2 separate regions of the Homo sapiens genome follow, and region 1 is linked to region 2. The links are contacts of gene promoters, found by promoter capture Hi-C in human tissues and cell types (Jung and others, 2019). All regions are on one chromosome and are shown on one strand. The core of a region is centred on a gene start or on the middle of the fragment in contact, and the rest is flanking DNA. Distances in the headings are between cores, read along the strand shown.

The links. The method cuts DNA at HindIII sites, captures the fragments that hold promoters and counts their contacts. A contact is called where the count stands out against the background at its distance.
Region 1: a contact is called between a fragment that was not itself captured here and the fragment with the promoter of DAD1 in region 2, in 1 of the 25 tissues and cell types used here (hippocampus).

The regions. Positions count from the first base shown.
Region 1 is chr14:21,097,259-21,103,418 of GRCh38, reverse strand. TMEM253 (transmembrane protein 253) reads right to left here and starts at 2,353. Exons shown (of 7, transcript NM_001395467.1): 1 at 2,235-2,353; 2 at 1,968-2,111; 3 at 1,444-1,554; 4 at 1,299-1,355; 5 at 904-1,014; 6 at 640-786; 7 at 1-280. The coding sequence starts at 2,075. The coding sequence ends at 161. It overlaps ZNF219 (zinc finger protein 219), which reads left to right and starts at 4,764. Exons shown (of 5, transcript NM_016423.3): 1 at 4,764-5,107. RefSeq lists enhancers at 1-122, 4,582-5,082, 5,842-6,160. The HindIII fragment of the contact is 4,406 bases long and covers 1-3,662 here.
Region 2 is chr14:22,587,974-22,594,159 of GRCh38, reverse strand. DAD1 (defender against cell death 1) reads left to right here and starts at 4,936. Exons shown (of 3, transcript NM_001344.4): 1 at 4,936-5,213. The coding sequence starts at 5,003. RefSeq lists enhancers at 4,656-5,297, 5,298-5,939. The HindIII fragment of the contact is 2,964 bases long and covers 2,743-5,706 here.

The DNA.
Region 1 (6,160 bases), core at 210-2,709, 1.5 Mb after region 2:
TCGTCCAGGTGTATCTTCCCCTAACAGGGAAGGAACGAAAAAAGGGCCTGCTTTGAGTGAAAACTGAAGGCACTCCCGGACTTCCTATTGGACTCGAAGGATCCCAGCAAGCTTCTGAGTTTGGTGGGGTGGGATGCAGGAATGTCTGGAGAGCATTCTCTCAGGGTGGAAGGAGAGCAGCACGTGTCTGTTCCCGCTGTCCCACCCTCTCATTTGCTCCTGTGCTGGCCACCGTGGGACCATTCTCCAAACCAGGAACCTCTTCCAACTCAGAGAAGCCCTGAAAACCAGAGACAGGTGTGAGCAAATTGTAGAGGTGAGAAAGGAGAAACCCCAGACAGAAACAACTGCTTCCTCCTGCCCAATTTTCTATCCTGTTTCCCATAGTCCTGCCAATATTTAGGCAGCTTCCTAATGCTTTCCCACTCTTTTAACCTCAATCATTTGGATTCCCAGTTTCCTCTTACCCACCATTAGGGGAGAAATGTTCAAAGCCAGAGAAAGCCAATCAGTTTCATTCTAGGACCTCTTCTTTTCTCTCCTGCCCCATTATTTTCCCTTAAGTGCCACTGACCAGGATAGGCAGTGGAAAAATTAGTTGGCAGCTAGCTATTCGTGCTTTCTTCCCTGCCCCCATACCTCCTGCAGCTCTTGATAGTGCAGACTCTGGCTCCTGCAGCATCCTGGTTTCCTCTGGCTCAGCAAGAATAGGGCGTGCACTGAGACCAGCACTCCCCCTAGGGTGAAGGCCTCAGCACTGAGTTCCAGCACCAGCAAGCCAGCATGCTGCAGGTAGACAGGGCTGAGAATGCAGGGACCCCGCACCTGTTTGCCCCTGCCCTTTTCCCTTCCCACCTCCTCTTGCCTCCTTATCCTCCCACCTTCTCCTTCATTGACCAGTACCTGGGAGGAGGCAGTTGGGGCAGGCCCCAAGGCTGTCTTCATCACCTCGACCACCACCACTATGAAACCCAAGATCAAGTTGAAGGTGTTGAATATCATCATGGCCCGCACCTGCCAGTGAGCCAGCTCAGCCCTGCCCAGCCTAGGGGAGTCATTCCAACCTCAATCCCCACTTGCAGCCTAGCTGAAGACAAAACTCAGCTTCTGCTTCTCAGCCTCCAAACAGGGCCATAAGCCCTCTTAACTTTTTTGCTTTCCTCCTCAGTGATTGAGGCCAGTCAGTGGTGACAGCTGAGAGAATGAGTCAACACTTAGCCACTTACTTCCTAGGCTGAGGGTTGTAGGTGTCTGTTTTAGGGAGTGGGAGGACAGTGCTGCGTTTTCTTCCCTCTCACCTTCCAAAGGCGGGGTGCTCTGCGAAGCTCCAGAGTGACAGTCCCAGTGAGGAGACCCTGAATGGTGAGAAGGGCAAGTGTTGAGCTCTGGTCCCGTTAGGAAGGGGCCCTGGGACCTTCCACCCTCCCTTGTGGTGGGTCTTACTGAGGCTCCAGGCCCAAGAGGCAGCGCTGTGGCCATGTGACAATCAGAGTTCAGGCAGGCGACTGAGACAGCAAGGGGCACCACAACCACTGCCAGCCATAGCTGGCTCACCTGGGGGTAAGGGTAGGGTAATTGGGGAGGAACTGTCAGGGATTCCCTCCCTTCTCGTAACTCCTACCTCTTTAGAGATCAGGAAATGGGATTGAATGCAGGGTGGAGGAAAGCAGTCAACCCAGAGCAAGGACGTGATCATTAAAAATTAAGTATCATTTAATTTTTTCTGCCTCATATTGTAGTTTAGTTACTTACCTGTATGTTTTCCCCCACAAGATGGAAGCTACTTGGGAGATTAAGGGTCTTGCCTTGTTTATTTCTATGTTTTCCTCTACCCTCCTCCCATTCAGAACCTAGCTCAGTTTCTGGCACATGGTAGGTGCTCACTTAACATGGATGGATGGATGGATGGAATTGAATTGGGTAGAAGTGGACATGCTGAGACCTGGGATGGGGTAGCCTGGCCTCACCGCTAGCACCAAGAGGTGCCCACTCTGCCTGTGCCTTGCCCAGTGTTGTAGCTTTTCCAGACGAAGGCTGTGTCTCTCCTGCTCTTGCTCACCAGCTCTATCTTCCATGGCTCCTTTGCCCACAAGAATTAGGTGCTTCCTAGGCTGGGAAAAATGCGTTATAGGTTCTGTCTATTAGGAGACAGGACATGCAACAACGTATCTTTCAGCTACACCTCTGCCCACTCCCAATATCCAGGGATTTGAGGTCCAGGTCCTCACACCTACCTAGTCTGAAGCAGCTACTCCAAAGGGATGGGACCCAGCTGGGTCCTAGGTCTCCTAAGGGGCTTGATAGCTCAGAGCAGACGACAAACTTGTCCTGGCAGAGGAAGGCTGTCAGGGATGGGGTGTGGTGGGGCAAAGGTTTCTATGAAGGCCTAAGGATCTAGGGAGTGGCCCTGGGTAGATACCGGCCTCAGTTCACTCCACAAGATGTCTAGCCCGACCTCACTCTGTTCCCATTTCTCATTACCCTCATTTCTGCCCATCCTGGGTTCCTTTTCTGGTTTCACTTACCTCATCCCCATGGACACTATCACTCTGGACCTCAATTCCCCCTCATTTCCATATGATCTTACTCCTTTCTTTGGCTTCCTCCTCAAATTATGTGCCCTTCCCTAGAGATCCTACTTTCTGTCTGGATTGGTCCCCTGTCATTACTACTTGCAGCTTTGCCCCCAGACCAGGTAAGGTTGAATTCCAGGGGCTTTCTTGCCTCTCACTTTCTGGACAGTCTCCCTTCCTTCTTTCTTGAAGGTTTTACTCTGAACTGAACACTGACTCAATGGATGGGGGGGACCCTGTTTATGGTGGGGATTGTTTTTGATTCAATGATAACCTGCAACTGGACATTATCTATCTATCTATCTATCTATCTCATGGTCCTCAAATAGTGAGTCTTGGGAAGGATGCTATTGCAACAATTAATATTTTTGAGAGAGAAGGTGCCTCATAGCCAGACAGACCTGAGCTGGAATCTTAGCTCTGCTGCTTCTCCATCTGTGTGATCTTGGATACATTATTATTATTATTATTATTATATTATTGAGACAGGGGCTCACTGTCACCCAGGCTGGAGTGCAGTGGCATGATCATGGCTCACTGTAGCCAACACCTTCTGGGCACAAATAATCATCCTGCCTCAGTCTCCCAAGTAGCTGGGATCACAGGCACATGCCACCATGCCTGGCTAATTTTTAAATTTTTTGTAGAGACAGGGTCGTCTCACAATGTTGCCTAAGCTGGTCTCAAACTCCTGGGCTCAAGCCATCCTCCCTGCTTGGCCTCCCAAACTGCTGGGATTACAGGTGTGGGCCACTGTGTCTGTCCTGATAGATATGTTTTTCTACCTATTCGCACCTCAGTTTATTCACTGATAAAAGGGGGCTAACAATATGACTGTGAAGAGTTGTTGATTCAGGGTGGGTGTTTAATAACTATTAGTGGTGCTGATGAGGTCACACCGATAAGTCTGATGCCCATACACTAAAAGTGTTATTCAGAAGGAAGCTGGGGACACATTTCTACAGTCGGAAGCAGAACCAGCTGGGCCCAAATATACTCTATAGATCAAAACAAATCCCAGATCTACCTAGGTGCCCTTGGCAAGTTGCTTAATCTCTCTGTTCCCTTATCTATAAAAGGAAGTTAATAATACCAGTCTCAAGGGGTTGCTTTCAGCATGGAAGAGAGCTTAGCCCAGTACCTGGTACACAAGTGCTCAATGTTAGTGGCTATGATCATCATCACTATTATTATTTCTTGTTGTTGACGATAAGAGGAGACTGCGCCAGAAGACTCTAGAAGTTAGTACGAGGAGGGAGGCAGGGTCCTGGGAGGCAAGTGATCTTTTGTAAGCCACTCCTGCCCCATCAGTGCTGTGCCAACATCGGCGGGTCATTGTATCTACTCTTTTCTTTCCCGGGGAGTGGGAGTCACGTTTTAAAGAGATCCAGAAAACTGCTGTGTGTCTACTCCTCCTCAATTCCCACGTGCATTGATTTTATTTGGTGGCGATGTGAGATGTTGGGCTTGCACTGAGGATCCCCGAGCCTGCAGGCCACTGGGGAAACAGACTTCCTGAAGCCTCATTTTTCTTACTTGTAAATGGGGGCTAATTTAATTATAGAGGGTTATTGGAAAGATTATATACTATTAGATAGGTGAACAGGCATTCAGTAAATATTGACTAAATCTGAGTATACTACTTACCAGTTTGTAGTCTAGACTACAATCGCCTGGAAGGAAGGTACCACTTCTTTCTCATCCCTCACAGCGCTGAGCCCAGTGCCTGGCACTTAGTAAGCACTCAGTAAATATTTGTTGTATTGAAGAGCCATTAAAGTGACTTGAGGAATGGAAAATAGAATTCGAGAGGAAGGCGCAGGAATTGTTTATCAAGAACGGAAAGGACCGAAGAGTAACTTTAATAATGTTTCTTATACGGCCGACATTAACTATCTCTATAATCGCCCCTCCTCCTCCCCCAAAAGAGAGACAGAAATTGTAAGGGAGAGGCTTTGAGATAAAACCCCAGGAAGAACTTCCCGAGTCTGTGCATGTTGGGGCAGAAAGAGCGGCAGAGCCAACTCCTTCCCTGGTATGTCCGGGTTTAGGGAGGGAGGGGCAGTGCTGCTTGGAGGCTGGGGGAAGGACGAGATGACCTTTCAAAATCTCTTCCAGTCTCCTGTTGGAATCCTCTGTGCGCCCCACCCCCGCTCCCTCCCTTCCTCCCTCCCTCCGACAGCGCCCCCCGTCTCCAAACCGCCCGCACCCCGCCCCTGGCGGCCGCCTCTCGCGGCTCCCGGGGTCCCCAGCTCCCTGTCCCCGGAGCCAGAGCCCGGCTCCCGCGCGGCTCCCAGCCCCGCCGCGCCGCCCCCCGCATGCTAATGGCCGGGCCGCCTCCCGCCGCACACAATGCGGGCCAGGGCCGGGGGCGGGGGACCGGGGAGGGGGCGGGGGCCGGGCCGGGGGCGGGGGGGCCGGGGCCCGGCGCATCTCCCCCGGCCCCACGTAACGCTGACGCCCGCGCCGCCGGCCCGCCGCCCGCCGCCGCCGCCGCCGCCGCCGCCCGCTCCGCCGCCGCCCGCCCGGGGCTCGTGAGTAGCCGCTCCCCCGACTCCCGGGCCCCCCCGTCCGCCACCCGGCCCCCGCCCCCGGCCCCCTCCCCCCTCCCGGAGGGGGGGCCCGCTCAGCGCGCCCGGCTCGGAGCAGGTGCAGGGGGCGGGGGCGGGGGAGGGGCGCCGGCTCGGCCCCAAGCAAACTTCGCCCAGAGCTCCTGGGGGGGCGGGGTGGGGGTGGCGGCCTCGGAAGCCTGGAGAGCTGGGGGGCCCCAAGGGAGGGGGGGCCAGGTGGAAGAGCTGGGGGAGCAGACACCAAAGGGAAGGGCCAACGGGGGGGATGTGGCGGGGGAGGTGGCGGGTGTCTTTGTAGGGGCCCGAAGGCAGGGCGCGAGGGACCTGGGGGTGAGGGGCGGCAGAGCCGCGAGCCTGAGTGGATGTGCACCCCCCAACCCCCGGCCCAGGTAGGGCTGGTGGGGGAGGGGGAAGGAGCCCAAACTCTCTGGAAGCACGGGGTGGCGGGGGAGGGGAAAGGATGGGGGGTGCTTCCCTCTTTGCGTCCCAAACAAAGTGTCACAAAGAGCTCGGCCCGCGGCAGCAGCGGAGGCGGCTGTAACTCAGCTTTTGTTCTCCTGGCCGGGGGTAGCTGAGCCTTGGCCTCCCTATCTCCCAACCCTGCCCCCCATCATCCTTCTGGCTTATCTTCCTGGGGAGGGGTCTGGGGTGCTGCTGGAAAAACCTCTCCGGCAGGATAGCAGGTCCTACCCTACTTAGCAATCTATTTCTGGGAGGGGGATTTTCCCAGAGGCTCCCTTGATCGCCCCTACCTCCCAGTCTGAGGACCGAGGCTCACGTGGGTGCTAAGACTGACTTTTCTAGGGTCAGCTCCACTTAAAGGGACTTAGGGCTGGCTACATGCCCCTCTTTCCCAAACCCAGGTCTTCCAGAACTTTCAAAATCAAAATCGGGGTTGCGTTAGGACATGCCTCTGGGATAAGATTCCCCATGGTGGGATGGCAGCAGGTGAGCAGGTGTGCCTTCCTCTCGCCTCCTGCTGTACCTTTGAAGTCCATGGCTGAGGTTCCATGTCCC
Region 2 (6,186 bases), core at 3,687-6,186:
TCTGATCTTGCAGCGCCCCCCACCCAGGAACTCAGGGCAAGAAGACAGCTTGGACTCCTTATTATTTCTTCCCCGACCATCAGGACTCGTGGCTCACTGGCTTCCCCAACCAAGTTGTCCTTAAAAACTCTGATCCCCGAATGCTTGGGGAGACTGATTTGAGTAATAATAAAATTCCGTTCTCCTGCACAGCTGGCTGTGTATGAATTACTCTTTCTCCATTCTAATTGCCCAGTCTTGATGAACCAGCTCTGTCTAGGCAGCGGGCAAGGTGAACTCCTTGGGAGGTTACAAACCCTCTTTCTATGACTGTAAGTCATCACTGAGTATTCCAAAAGTAGGTGGAGCTGATAAACTGATAGCTCAGGCCTGGCAGCTATAGATTATTCTTGTTTCAAATGGGTATCACTGCCATTTGAATAAACTGTGAACAAGGTATATCTCTTTGACTGAACATAGAAATGAGTGGAATAGCTCATAAGTTGTTCTGTCCAATGACAGCCACTAGCCACAAGTGGCTACTTAGATTTAAATAAAAGCCAAATAAAATTTCCTTAGTCACACTGTAACCAAGTATCCCCATTTTTCTAAGAGATAGTTTAATGATTTTTAAAAAATCTCTCTTCTTTTCCCCCTTCTCCTCACTTCCTCCTTAGCTCTTTAGAAATGCAATTGTAGCCTTTTACCTCCTCTTTATCAGACACTCCCTATGGGGCAGGTTCATCTAACTATGTGCTTAGAAGCTCCAGAGAGGAACTCTCACCCACCGGGAGGTTGCCTTGAGAGACAACAGCCTATCTACAACCCAAAGTATGCCTGCTACAAAGCTTTCTCTTACCTGGAGAGTTTTGGCCACTTTTACAACCCAGTCCTGCCCACAAAAGGCACCAGCAGTCACTGTCCAGTAGATAAGGCACTGAAGGTAGTATGCAGACCCCCCAACCACTCGCTTCCTCCCCTCGTGCCATTCATGCCAGCATTCCATGCCCCATTTCAAAAGCACCCTCTTTCTGCTCCAAAAGTGAAATGGTACCCTTAAGGCAGAAAACCTGTACTTCCTCCCCTAAGGTAGCTTTGGAATAAAATATCATTTTCTTTATACCAGATCTCACTCTTGTTAAGTGGACTCTGCAAGCAGCGAGAGAGTGAACCTGCATTTGGGTTACAACACTAACTAGTTTAAGTGCTCAATAGCCACATATGTCTAGCAGTTACTATACTGGGCAGTGCAGAGACATTATCACAGAAAATTCTATTGCACACTGTTGCTCAGGCACTGATGATTTCAGCCCCATGTTGTGGTGAGTGATCTGCTCTTGGAAAGGACAATATAGTGGACTCACTTTCGGGTGCCAGCAAGGGGGCAAAACTGAGGCTTTTTTGAGACTCCCAAACAGCTAGGAGGGAGGGAAACCAGACAAAGGAGCTGAAAAGTTGTTCCACTTCATCAGAAACTGAAAGGATGAAGGGATATGGGTTCACTGAAGATATTTACTGCTTTACTAGGACTTGATCAGAAACTTGATACTTTAAAAATTTGACTTTGTGCTGTTTGCAACTTGATTCTCCTTAAATTTTTATTTCTGAAAATAATAACCTATTTTATCTGTTCTATTAGGAAACAAGGAGAGGGGGTTTTGGTCACACTGGGGCCAAAGTTTAGAAGGTAGAGATTATATATGCAATAGCAGTTAACAGAAGCAAAGAGGGGAATCTTAAGGCAAACGTGACAATGCAAGGGAAAGGAAATGGAAAAGACATTCTTTTCCATGCGGAGATTTCCTTTAGAAGAGTTATTGTCTACTCAAACTTTGGAGGATTTGTGTTTCTTTTGGTAAATAATGTGATTTCTTTTTGTAGAGGATGTATGATGTAAAATCATGGACTTTGCCCTTAAGGGAACCCTCTTGCTCCTCCACTCTTCCATTGTTTTATGTAATGAAACCCCTAAAGTATACTCTGACTTCAGTTTCAGCTTATAAATTAGATCTGCCCTTTAAGAGCCATTTGAGTTGCAGTCCCTCCAGTGCTATCTTTTGCATACCCAAATTATTGGGGGCGCTGTAGTTTGGCTAACTTTTAATCATTCAGAGAACTAGGAGAAGCAGACATGGTTAATTACTAGGATTAATGATAGTTAATAAGAGCAAACATTTACTGAACATTTACTGTCTGCCAAACACTATGCTAACAGCTTAATGCTTAACATTATCTCATTTAATCCTCACATAATTTCAATGAGCCAGGTATTGTTATTTCTGTTTTATAGAAAAGGAAAATGAGACTGTCAGACTGAGTAACTTGTTCCAGATTAGACAACTAGTAAACAGCAGAATCAAGGTTCAAACCTAGGACTGTCTGATTCTAGAGCTTGCACTCTTATCCACTACTCTGGACAAGAATTTTAAACTATATTAATATTCTGATTTAAACTAATTGAAATCAACACTAGTGTTAGCAATTTCCTATTGACAGATCAGTTAAAAATGTTTCAATGATTATAGAATCATAAACCGAATAGAGAAGTAGGCCTTTTCTTGCTGTTTTAAGTAGTTCAGAAAAGCCCTAGTGTAGTATATTGGTGTGACTAGCAGGTCTCAGAAACAAATGCATTCAATAAGTCCATTTGGTGTTTTTCATCTCTTCTTCTCTCCTGTGAGAGTTCCTGGGGAGATCTTAATGATGATAGTTGACATGGATCAAAGGCAGACAAAACATAAGGGAGAAAACACTGGAAGGAGCCTGGCTGATGGAACAGAAACTCCCTGAAGAATCCACACCTGAATGATTAAAAAGCATCAGCCTAGCCTGTAAAGTTTGAAGTTGAATATTCGTGAGGAAGCTACCCTCCTACTTGTTGATGAGGCAGAGAGAAAGGTTCAACTTGTCAGAGAAATTGATGCTTCCTGCCATATTATATTGAAATAAGAACCAGCTTGTTATCCACTCTTTTTTTTTCTTTCTCAGCAACATAGGTTTAGGCTGAACTTATGTTCATATAGCTGCACAAATCTCCACGGGTATGAATATAAATCTATCTATTCAAATAGACTCTAAAGGTTTCTTAGGTTATTTCTCTTCTTTCTAGAACTTAAGTAAGGCTTTGATCACCACTGATAATACATCCGTTAGTTAATGCGTGTAGAGTTTCCAGTCTAAAGGCAAATAAAAAGTGAAAAGGGGCCGGCGCAGTGGCTCACTCCTATAATCCCAGCACTTTGGGAGGCTGAAGCAGGCAGATCACCTGAGGTCAGGAGTTCAAGATCAGCTTGGCCAACATGGCGAAACCCCGTTTCTACTAAAAATACAAAAATTAGCCGGGCGTGGTGGCAGGTGCCTCTAATCCCAGCTACTCGGGAGGCTGAGGCAGGAGAATGGCTTGAACCCAGGAGGTGGAGGTTGCAGTGAGCCGAGATCGCACCATTCACTGCACTCCAGCCTGGGTGACAAGAGCAAAACTTCATCTCAAAAAAAAAAAAAAAAAAAAGTGAAAAGGCAGGAACGCTGTTGTTCACCTGCTGTTTTAGGAATTTTGCTCACGTACAGTTCAAAATATTAAGAAGCTGAAAATAAAGTACCTGGTCATGTGTGGAAAAACTTACAGCTAAAAGGTGAGATGAACTGGGTCTAGAAGGTCGGATTCACGTGAAATTAAAAGGGCAACGAAAGCCAGAACTTAATTTCTTAAAAAAAGTTAAAACAGGCCGGGTGCAGTGGCTCATGCCTGTAATCCCAGCACTTTGGGAGGCCGAGGCTGGCGGATCACAAGGTCAGGAGTTCGGGACCAGCCTGGCTAACAATGGTGAAACTCCGTCTCTACTGAAAATACAAAAATTAGCCGGGCGTGGTGGCGCGTGCCTGTAGTCCCAGCTACTAGGGAGGCGGAGGTTGCAGTGGGCCGAGATCGCGACACTGCACTCCAGCCTGGCCGACAGAGCAAGGCTCCGTCTCAAAAAAAAAAAAAAAAACAGTTAAAACCCTCAAAATAATCCCACTTGTTAAAATACAAAACCTGAAACCATTTCAGTTTCTTCTGCAAAATGAGTTGGAGAGAGTAGGGTTGAACCAGGCATGCTCTTTCGGGCCTTTCGACGCTGACATCCCGGGATATTACACCAGGTTCAAGATACCAGCTTGCGGAAAGAGAGCTGCTAAACTTGACCATATGCTTTTTGCACGACATTCGACAGCTGTCCCTCCCTTCACCAGCTCTTTTAAGGCTGCAAATATATCTGATTCACGTGAGAGTCCCTACAAGTTAGTACAACGTCAGGCCCCAAGGAGGCGCCCAATAAATGTTGGCATTGCAGGGCCAGATCCCGAGTTCCAGTTCAGAACCCTGCTGAGGTCAGGCTTCCTCCCTGCCTCCCGCCCCTCACCACACCCACTCACTCCCCCAAGTAATTAAGTCTAAACTGGGGCCTGTGCAGTGATTGGCCGCGCCGGGTCTCACTGCGGATGAACTTGACTTGTTCCAATGATCTGTGACAGACATCTGCAGACAGCGCCCTTAACAGAATTAGGGTCAGGCTGGTATCAAACCCCAGGAACGCCAGGCATTGCCTCAAAGTAGATGCAAACCGTTAAATCTTCCAGGACTCAGAAGGACCAGAGAGAGCCGGATACCTCTGGTTAGCTACGCGGTCCCCAGTAAAGCTTATTCCCCTCTTCCTCCCAGTGTGTCTTGTTGCCAGAGCAACTGTGGGCGTCACCGAGCTGACGGGCGGAAACAGAACAGAAAGAGTACACGTCCCCAGCTCATTGATAGGGCCATTGCGCAGACGCATTAACTTTTCTGAGTTGTAGTTGAGTCTGTTGATGCAGTCCGCGTCTGCGCATTAGTTGTTACGCGCCCTGGCCGGCCTCAGCGCCTGCGCAAATTGGCACACCGGGGAGGGCGGAGTTAGGTCACGAGGGTGCGCATGCGCAAACAGCACATCCGGTGTGGTCGACGGGTCCTCCAAGAGTTTGGGGCGCGGACCGGAGTACCTTGCGTGCAGTTATGTCGGCGTCGGTAGTGTCTGTCATTTCGCGGTTCTTAGAAGAGTACTTGAGCTCCACTCCGCAGCGTCTGAAGTTGCTGGACGCGTACCTGCTGTATATACTGCTGACCGGGGCGCTGCAGTTCGGTTACTGTCTCCTCGTGGGGACCTTCCCCTTCAACTCTTTTCTCTCGGGCTTCATCTCTTGTGTGGGGAGTTTCATCCTAGCGGGTAATGGTTCTATAAGTGATCATAATAATAATGTGTTACTTTGGTGTGCTGCTTTTGTTTTCATAGTACTCTATATCAGACCACCGCCCCTTGAAGTTATGAGAAGAGCCTGCATTGCCCTTTTGTTGTGAATGGGGAAATTGAGGCTCAGAAAGCTTAGATTATATGCCTAATACCAAACGGCTCCGTAGGAGTTGGACTTAAAAGTCTAAAGAAACCACCTTCGTGCCGCTACTCCACTTGGTGATCCACTTCACTTAATATTGGTCCGGGGAAAACCCTATTCCAACTTTAACTTAGGTTTAACACAACTCTAAAATTAGTAGACTTTTCAAATGAAAAACCCAACCTTGAATCATCTCTGTCATCTTGGCCTAATCATTACCAATCTCCGGTGAAACGTTTCAATGAAAGTGCAAAGAATATAAATACTGGTGCTTTTCTTGTTGAATCATCCTTTACTTGATTTTGCCTTTTAGCTGCTACTACTTTTTTTCTTGTTGAGGAAGCTGTTATTTCACTGTCCTGAACCCAATTTTTGTTCACATAACTCTATTTTAGCCTTATTTTTCCTTTTGATTCCAGGATTTGGTAACCTTGTAGACTGCTATATTTAGCGAGAACAGTCTCCATCAATTTTTGTTAAAATCTGACTTTTCTTGCCCAACGGGGATTCAGTGAATACTGAAAACAGGCGTGGCCTCTATCACTGGTATCACCTGCTACTTTGACTTTGAAAACATGCCAGCATTCATGGTTTCTTTTCAGTGTGATCATCAGTCAGGTCATCAGTTGTATTTTCAGTCCAATATGAGGCATTATGGTAAAAGCTTTGGCACATGTTCTTTATCCGTAAAGAGTTTATGGTCTAGTTGGGGTACAGACAAAATACAGCATTGGAATTGTCTGGAGGCCTGGCACAGTGGCTCATGCCTGTAATCCCAGTACTTTGGGAGGCCGAGGTAGGCAGATC